Linked DNA regions of Homo sapiens: region 1 is linked to region 2. The links are contacts of gene promoters, found by promoter capture Hi-C in human tissues and cell types (Jung and others, 2019). All regions are on one chromosome and are shown on one strand. Each heading gives the region's core, a stretch centred on a gene start or on the middle of the fragment in contact. The rest is flanking DNA. Distances are from core to core; before and after follow the strand shown.

Evidence for each region. Contacts are between HindIII fragments. The study calls those that stand out against the background at their distance.
Region 1: a contact is called between a fragment that was not itself captured here and the fragment with the promoter of KLRG2 in region 2, in 1 of the 25 tissues and cell types used here (hippocampus).

Annotation. Positions count from the first base shown.
Region 1 is chr7:140,546,386-140,550,196 of GRCh38, forward strand. DENND2A (DENN domain containing 2A) reads right to left here. Exons shown (of 20, transcript NM_015689.5): 13 at 414-554. Among named protein-coding and RNA genes, the nearest start is that of MKRN1, 69 kb to the left of the region's middle. The HindIII fragment of the contact is 6,920 bases long and covers 1-3,811 here.
Region 2 is chr7:139,481,678-139,485,496 of GRCh38, forward strand. It overlaps KLRG2 (killer cell lectin like receptor G2), which reads right to left and starts at 1,996. Exons shown (of 5, transcript NM_198508.4): 1 at 1,209-1,996. The coding sequence starts at 1,965. RefSeq lists an enhancer at 1,156-1,235 and silencers at 1,366-1,645, 2,106-2,165. The HindIII fragment of the contact is 6,160 bases long and covers 1-3,819 here.

The DNA.
Region 1 (3,811 bases), core at 420-2,919, 1.1 Mb after region 2:
CCAGCCTGGGCGACAGTGCAAGACTTTGTCTCAAAAACAAAAACAAAAAATAAAGTTATAGAGGTGATACAGACTTGAAATGTAAATAGGTTTCAATAAAATGTATGAAAGAAAACGGGCTATTAAAAGAAATTAAGGATGTTCAGTGCAGATCCCTAACCTGAGGCCAACATCATGCAAAGGAACACCCCAGCTGCCATAGCATAGTTCTTGGGCTTGCCGCATTGGGCAGAGTCCTAGGCTGGATGGATTGAGGGTGGAACTCATGATGAGTGATCTGGGCCAGCTCTAGGGGTGGGGAGAAGACACCAAGGAATTGGACTGCTCACTGAAAGGCAGCCCCTCTGAGCACGGAGACTCGGCTGTCTGGGCCACTGCCTCCCCAGGGAGAAGGAAGGAGTCTGACAACTCACCTCAGTTCCTGAACCTGGCAGGAAGTTCTTGACAAGGATGGTTTTGCCCAGGGCTGGGAAAGGGGCTTCCATGACACTTCTCATGAGTGGCTGAACCAGGGCAGGAGAGATGCCTCGTCTTTTTTCCACCTCATCCAAGATCTGCAAGGGTCAGAAAAGCAGCTTAGCTATTCCGAAGCCAAAGCACCAAGGTGGAGCTCAGTTCTAGGTGAAGTGGGCCTGCCATGGTGACTCAAGAATTATGGGGAAGCCCTGCTTTCCCCATGAGGCCAAAACAGGCCCTTTGACCCTACACATGATTGTCCCCAATTCTTCTCTCCTCTGTGTGTCCACACCCTTTGCCATGCAATGTTGCAGCTCCTACTCAGGAGTGAAGTCCACTTCCTTGCCCCTTTGACCTAGGGTTTGGCCATGTGACAGGTTGTACTAATACATGCATTCTCAATGAAGGTAATATAACCCCAAGGGGGTAAGAACTGGTTTTTGGGAGGAATGAAAAAACTTAGATATTACAGTGGTTTGTAGCCCTCTAAGAGGTCACAGTACATAAACAGATATACAGTTTATTTATGAAATGAAAATGTCATGGGAGGGGATAGCCATCATGAAAATACAAATCAAAAGCACCATGAGATACCACTTCACACCCGTTAGGATGACTCTAATAAAAAGATGGATAAGAACAAGTGTTGACAAGGACATGGAGAAATTAGAAATCTCATACACTGCTGGTAGGAATGTAAAATAGTGAAGCTACTCTGGAGAACAGTCTGGTAGTTCCTCAAAAGGTTAAACATAGAGTTACCATATGACCCAGCACATAGCACTCCTAGGTACCTACCCAAAAGAAGTGAAAACATATATGTTCACATAAAAATTTGTACATGATTGTCTGTAGCGGCATTATTCATAATAGCCACAACACAGAAGAAACTTAAATGTCCATTAACTGATGAAGTGATAAACAAAATGCACTATATCCATATAATGGAATATTATTTGGCCATCAAAGTGCTGATACATGCTATAACTTGGATGACTCTTGAAAACATTATGCTAAATGAAAGAAGCTAGTCATAAAAGGCCATCTAATGTATGATTCCACTTAGATGAAATGTCCAGAATAGAAAAATCCAGAGAGACAGAAAGTGGATTGGAGGTTGCTTAGAGTTAGGGAGTGGCGGCTAATAGGTATAGGGTGTTTTGTTGGGGTGATGAAAATGCTCTAAAATTGTGGTGATGGTTGTATAACTCTGTGAATATGCTGAAAGCCACTGAACTGTATATATTTTTTATTTTTTATTATTTTAGAGATGGGAGTCTTGCTAGGTCGCCCAGGCTTGCCTTCAACTTCTGGGCTCAAGTGTCCTCCTATGTCAGCCTCCTGAGTAGCTGAGACTACAGGCGCTTGCCACTGTGCTCAGCAAATTGTGTACTTTAAATGAATGAATTGCATGGTATGTGAATTATATCTTAATAAAGCTACTACTAAAAAACTAAAAAAAAAAAAAAAAATTCCAAACTCTCCACAATCTAATTGTAAATTGAAGAGTCTAAATTAAAATGCCGTTTATGAAGCTGGGTGAGATGGCACACACCTGTAATCCCAGCTACTTGGAAGGCTGAGGCAGGAGAATTGCTTGAGCCCAGGAATTTGAGGCTGCAATGAGCTATGATCATGCCACCACACTCCAGCCTGGGCAACATAGTGAGACCCAGTCTCTATTTTTAAAAACTGCCATTTATAAAAGTATCACATGTAGCTATTGAGCCCTTGAAATATGGCTAGTCTGAATTCAGAGGTTTTTTTACTTTATTTTTTATTTTTTTTTGAGACAGAGTTTCGCTCTTGTTGCCCAGGCTGGGGTGCAGTGGCATGATCTCGGCTCACTGCAACCTCTGCCTCCTGGGTTCAAGCAATTCTCCTGCCTCAGCCTCCCGAGTAGCTGGGATTACAGGCATGCACCACCACGCCTGGCTAATTTTGTAGTTTTAGTAGAGACGGGGTTTCTCCATGTTGGTTAGGCTGGTCTCGAACTCCCGACCTCAGGTGATCCACCCACCTCGGCTTCCCAGTGTTGGGATTACAGGCATGAGCCACTGTGCTGGCCCAGATGTATTGTTAAATGTAAAATACCAGCCGGGCATGGTGGCTCCCACCTGTAATCCCAACATTTTGGGAGGCCAAGGCTGGCGGATCACTTGAGGTCAGGAGTTTGAGACCAGCCTGCCAACACGGTGAAACCCCATCTCTACTAAAACTACAAAATTAGCCAGGCGTGGTGGCAGGCTATATTCCCAGATATATTCCCAGATACATGGGAGGCTGAAGCAGAAGAATTGCTTGAATCCAGTAGGCAGAGGTTGTGGTGGGCTGAGATCGCGCCATTGCACTCCAGCCTGGGTGACAAGAGCAAAACCATCTAAAAAAAAAAAGTGTAAAATACCAATGGAATTTCAAAATACACATTTTTTTTTTCCAGAATGAGTCTTGCTCTGTCGCCCAGGCTGGAGTGCAATGGCGCAATCTTGGCTCACTGCAACCTCTGCCTCCTAGCAAGCAATTCTCATGCCTCAGCCTCCCAAGTAGCTGGGATTACAGGCATGTGCCACCACACCCAGCTAATTCTTGTATTTTTAGTAGAGACGGAATTTTGCCATGTTGGCCAGGCTGGAACTCCTGACCTCAGGCGATCCAACCACCTCGGCCTCCCAAAGTGCTAGGATTACAGGTGTAAGCCGCCATGCCCGGCCCTCGAAATAGACAATTAATAACATAAAATATATCAATGATTTTTTTCATGTTAACTATATGCTGAAATAAAATAATATTTTGTACATATTGTGTTAAATAAAATTTATTATTAAAATTAAAAAGACAGTATGGCAGTTCCTCAAAAAACTAAATAGAATGACCATATGATCCAGCAACTCTATTTGTGGGTGTATACCCAAAAGAATTGAAGCAGGGACTTGAATAGATATTTATTTGGACACCTATGTTCCTAGCAGAATAATTCACAATGGCCACAACGTGGAAACAACCCAAATGTCCATCAATGGATAAATGGATAAATAATCAATCAATGGATAAATGGATAAATAAAATGTTGTACATACATACAGTGGAATATTATTCAGCCACAAAAGGAATGAAGTACAGATACATGCTACGACATGAGTGAACCCTGAAAATATTATGCTAAGTGAATCGAAGCCAGTCACAAAAGGACAACTGTTGATCGTTCTACCTCTGTAACATTCCTAGAATCCTGGAATTCATAAAAATAGAAAGTAGAATGGCGATGGTGAGGGGTTAGGGGAGGGGATAGGGGTGGGGTTAGGGGTGGGGTTAGGGGAGGGGGAATGGGAAGCTATTGTTTAATGGGTACAGAGTT
Region 2 (3,819 bases), core at 746-3,245:
CTTTGGGAGGCTGAGGCGGCTGGATCACCTGAGGTCAGGAGTTCCAGACCAGCCTGGCCAACATGATGAAACCCCCTGTCTACCAAAAATACAAAAACTAGCCAGGCATGGTGGCCGGCGCCTGTAATCCCAGCTACTCGGGAGGAGGCTGAGGCAGGAGAATCGCTTGAATCCAGGAGGCGAAGGTTGCAGTGAGCCGAGATTGTGCCATTGCACTCCAGCCTGGGTGACAAGCGCAAAACTTATTTCTTAAAAAAAAAAGAAAGAAAAAAGAAAAAAAGAAAAAAATTGGCTATCTCTTGCCCCAAATTCACCAACTACTCCCTCCAGTCTCCTTATCCAGGACAGTCTGTATCTTTTGTGGGCTCTTTCTTCTGTGTCAAGCTCCCCCTCCCCCACACCACAAAATAACCAGCCGCACATACTACTGGCACATCTACCCTGTGGTCCCACTCACTATCTACTGAATGGATGAGTGTTTGGGGCTAAATGTTCCTCAGTGTGGTGGAAAGAAAGCAGCAGCCTGGACCTTCCAGAAAGTCCTTGGCAGTGCAGGGATGGGGGGATCTGGGCTGCCACCCCTGCCACCTGATCCTGAATGACTTCCCCTCATCTGGAGTTCCTTCCACTGCTACTTCTCAAAGGTGCTGCGCATGCTAAGAGGGAATTTGAAAGTTCGGGAGTGCGGGTAGGGGAGGATGAGAAGGGGAGTGGCTTTACTCTTTTTTTTTTGAGACGGAGTTTCTCTCTTGTTGCCCAGGCTGGAGTACAATGGCATGATCTCGGCCCACTGCAACCTCCGCTTCTCGGGTTCAAGCGACTCTCCTGTCTCAGCCTCCTGAGTAGCTGGGATTACAGGTGAATGCCACCATGCCAGGCTAATTTTTGTATTTTTAGTAGAGACGGGGTTTCATCATATTGGTCAGGCTGGTCTCGAACTCCTGACCTCAGGTGATCCGCCCGCCTCGGCTTCCCAAAGTGCTGGGATTACAGGCGTGAGACACGGCAACAATGTGAATTACAGTTACGTAGACAGGAATGTTATTGATTGTAAGCCCGAGAGGCCAGATCGGGTTGGGGATCGGGATGGCCAACTGGGTCCCTTAGTCGGTCAGCTGCCCAGCGGTCCAGGGCTGGGCGGGTGTGGGGGTTTCGGCTACGTCCACCCGACCTGGCGGCGTCGGCTGCCGGCGCAGGTGAGCACTCACCCGTAAGCGTTACGGCCCGGGGCAGCTTCTCGTCGCCGTCCAACCCCGCGCGGGGCAACAGCGCCGCATCCTCCTTCTCCAGCCCCAGCTCCTTGCAGCGGCAGCACGTGGGGGAGCCCGGGGAGCCGGCGCTTCCTTCCGCGGGGCTGGCCCGGCCCTCTGCGTCGCAGCCGCTCTCCGTCCGGGCTGCAGCCAGCGGCGAGCGGCGGCCCCACGTGCCGCCCTGGGATGGTGCGCGCAGCAGGAGCTGGTGCGCCGGGTCCGCGTGGCGGGAGAAGGCAGGGGACTCGGGCACCGGCACCTTGAGGAAGCGCGTGGAGGGCCTGGGCGATGGCGTGCTGCTGCCACCGGCCGCGCCCACGGGCTTCACGCGCACATCTACCTGCAGCTCCATGGGCGCCCAGGCGCTGGGCGCAGGCTCAGCCCCGGGCGCCTCGCCATTCCGGGGCAGCTTGACCAAGGCAGGGCCCGGTGACGGCGGCTCGGGGCAGACCCCGTAGCCCAGGCTGAGCGGCGGCACGCGCGGGGACCCGGGGCGAGGCGAAGGCGGCTTTTTCTTGCTCGAGGGCTCCAGGCCTGCGCCCGCCGCCTTCTCCACGGCCCCGGCCGGACTTGGGCTGCTTTCGGGACCTTCAGGTTGTCGCACCTTCGCGGGCACCTGCGGCTGCTCCAGCGTGGGGACCAGGCTTCCCACGGGCTCCATTGGGAGCTCTGCCCCGGCTTGGCCTCCGGGCGCAGCCTCCCAAGACTCCTCCATCCCGCGCGCCCCGCCACCCGGAGACGCTGAGGAGCGCACCTGGGCCCAGTGCAGAGGAGCTTCGCTCTCCTCCGTCCGGATTGGTCCAGCCGCGTCGCCGAAGTTGTCAGGCCACGCCCCTCCCCGAAGGACCCCGCTGTGATTGGCTGTGGCTGAGGTTCTGCTGCCCCGACCCCCTTCGGGACACAGCCCCGGCCTCCACCAGGCACTGGGAGGGAGCTGAGAACGGCAGCGGGGCCAGGCGAGGGTTGCAGGGTGGGCGGGAGCTCTCGGGAGAAAAGCAGAACACCAGCGGAGGCTTGTGGCAGGGAACCCGGAGCCCCGCCTGACCCTTCCCTCTTCTTTGTCTCTGACCTCACCCATTTTCCCCTCCAGCCCTATGCCGGGGTGTTGGTTTTGAGAGTTACAGTTTGGGCGGGGAAGGATTGGCCAAGCCTGTCTGGATCCTGGGACCTCAGAGAAATCAGAATCCAAAGGAATTGGGGCGACCTGTGGAAAAGTAGCCCAGTTGGTTGTCCTGACAATCCAGCAGGGTTTCGAAAGGACTCTCCATCATACTTGGGAGGACTCCCCCACTGAGTAACGCTAAGAGAAAAGAAACAGGGCGTGGATAAGCAATTCTTCTTTTTTTTTTTTTTTTTGAGACGGAGTCTTGCTCTGTCGCCAGGCTGGAGTGCAGTGGCCCGATCTCGGCTCACTGCAATCTCCGCCTCCCAGGTTCAAGCGATTCTCCTGCCTCAGCCTCGTGAGTAGCTGGGACTACAGGCACCCACCCCACCACGCCCGGCTAATTTTTGTATTTTTAGTAGAGACGGGGTTTCACCATGTTGGCCAGGATGGTCTCGATCTCCTGACCTCGTGATCTGCCCGCCTCGGCCTCCCAAAGTGCTGGGGTTACAGGCGTGAGCCACCGCGCCCCGCCTGGCCTCTGGTATTTTTAAGTGCCCCCAGGGTAGGGTTGGCAGATAAAATGCAGGCCACTCAGTTTAATTTGAATTTCAGTTAAACAAGGGATAGTTTTTAGCATAGTAGTCCTCCCTTATCCACTGGGATAGTTCCAAGACCTCCCAGTGAATGCCTGAAACTTTGGATAGCACCAAACCCTATATATACTGTTTTTTTCTATACAAGCGGTCTTCAAAAGGTTCATGGAAAATTCATACTATGAAAAAAACTATGCATGGATTTGAAAATTTTTTGGCACCAAAATAAATTTGTACTAACTTGTTATCACATGTCTCGACAAGATCTAGTTTGAGGCACTAAGAAGGATAAGACATCAGTTTGAAAAGAGCTCCTGTCAGAGCAACAAGGATTCTGCTAAATTTGAAGCAAGAATAATCATCACATTTATGGTGACATCATTGATATTTTTATGAAAAGCTCATGGGGACAATGCCCCCAAGAAACCAGCAGTTTGCAAATGGAAAACTCGTTTTAAGAAGGGATGAGGCCAGGCGTGGTGGCTCAGCCTGTAATCCCAGCACTTTGGGAGGCCGAGGCAGGTGGATCACTTGAGGTAAGGAGTTCGAGACCAGCCTGGCCAACATGCTGAAATCCTGTCTCTACTAAAAAAGCAAAAATTAAGCTGGGCGCGGCAGCTCACGCCTGTAATCCCAGCACTTTGGGAGGCCGAGGTGGGCGGATTGACTGAGCTCAAGAGTTCAAGACCAGCCTGGGCAACACAGTGAAACCCCGTCTCTACTAAAATACAAAAAATTAGCTGGCATGGTGGCATGCGCCTGTAGTCTCAGCTACTCGGGTGCCTGAAAATACAAAAAATTAGCCGGGCGTGGTAGTGGGTGCCTGTAATCCTAGCTACTCGGGAGGCTGAGGCAGGAGAATTGCTTGAAC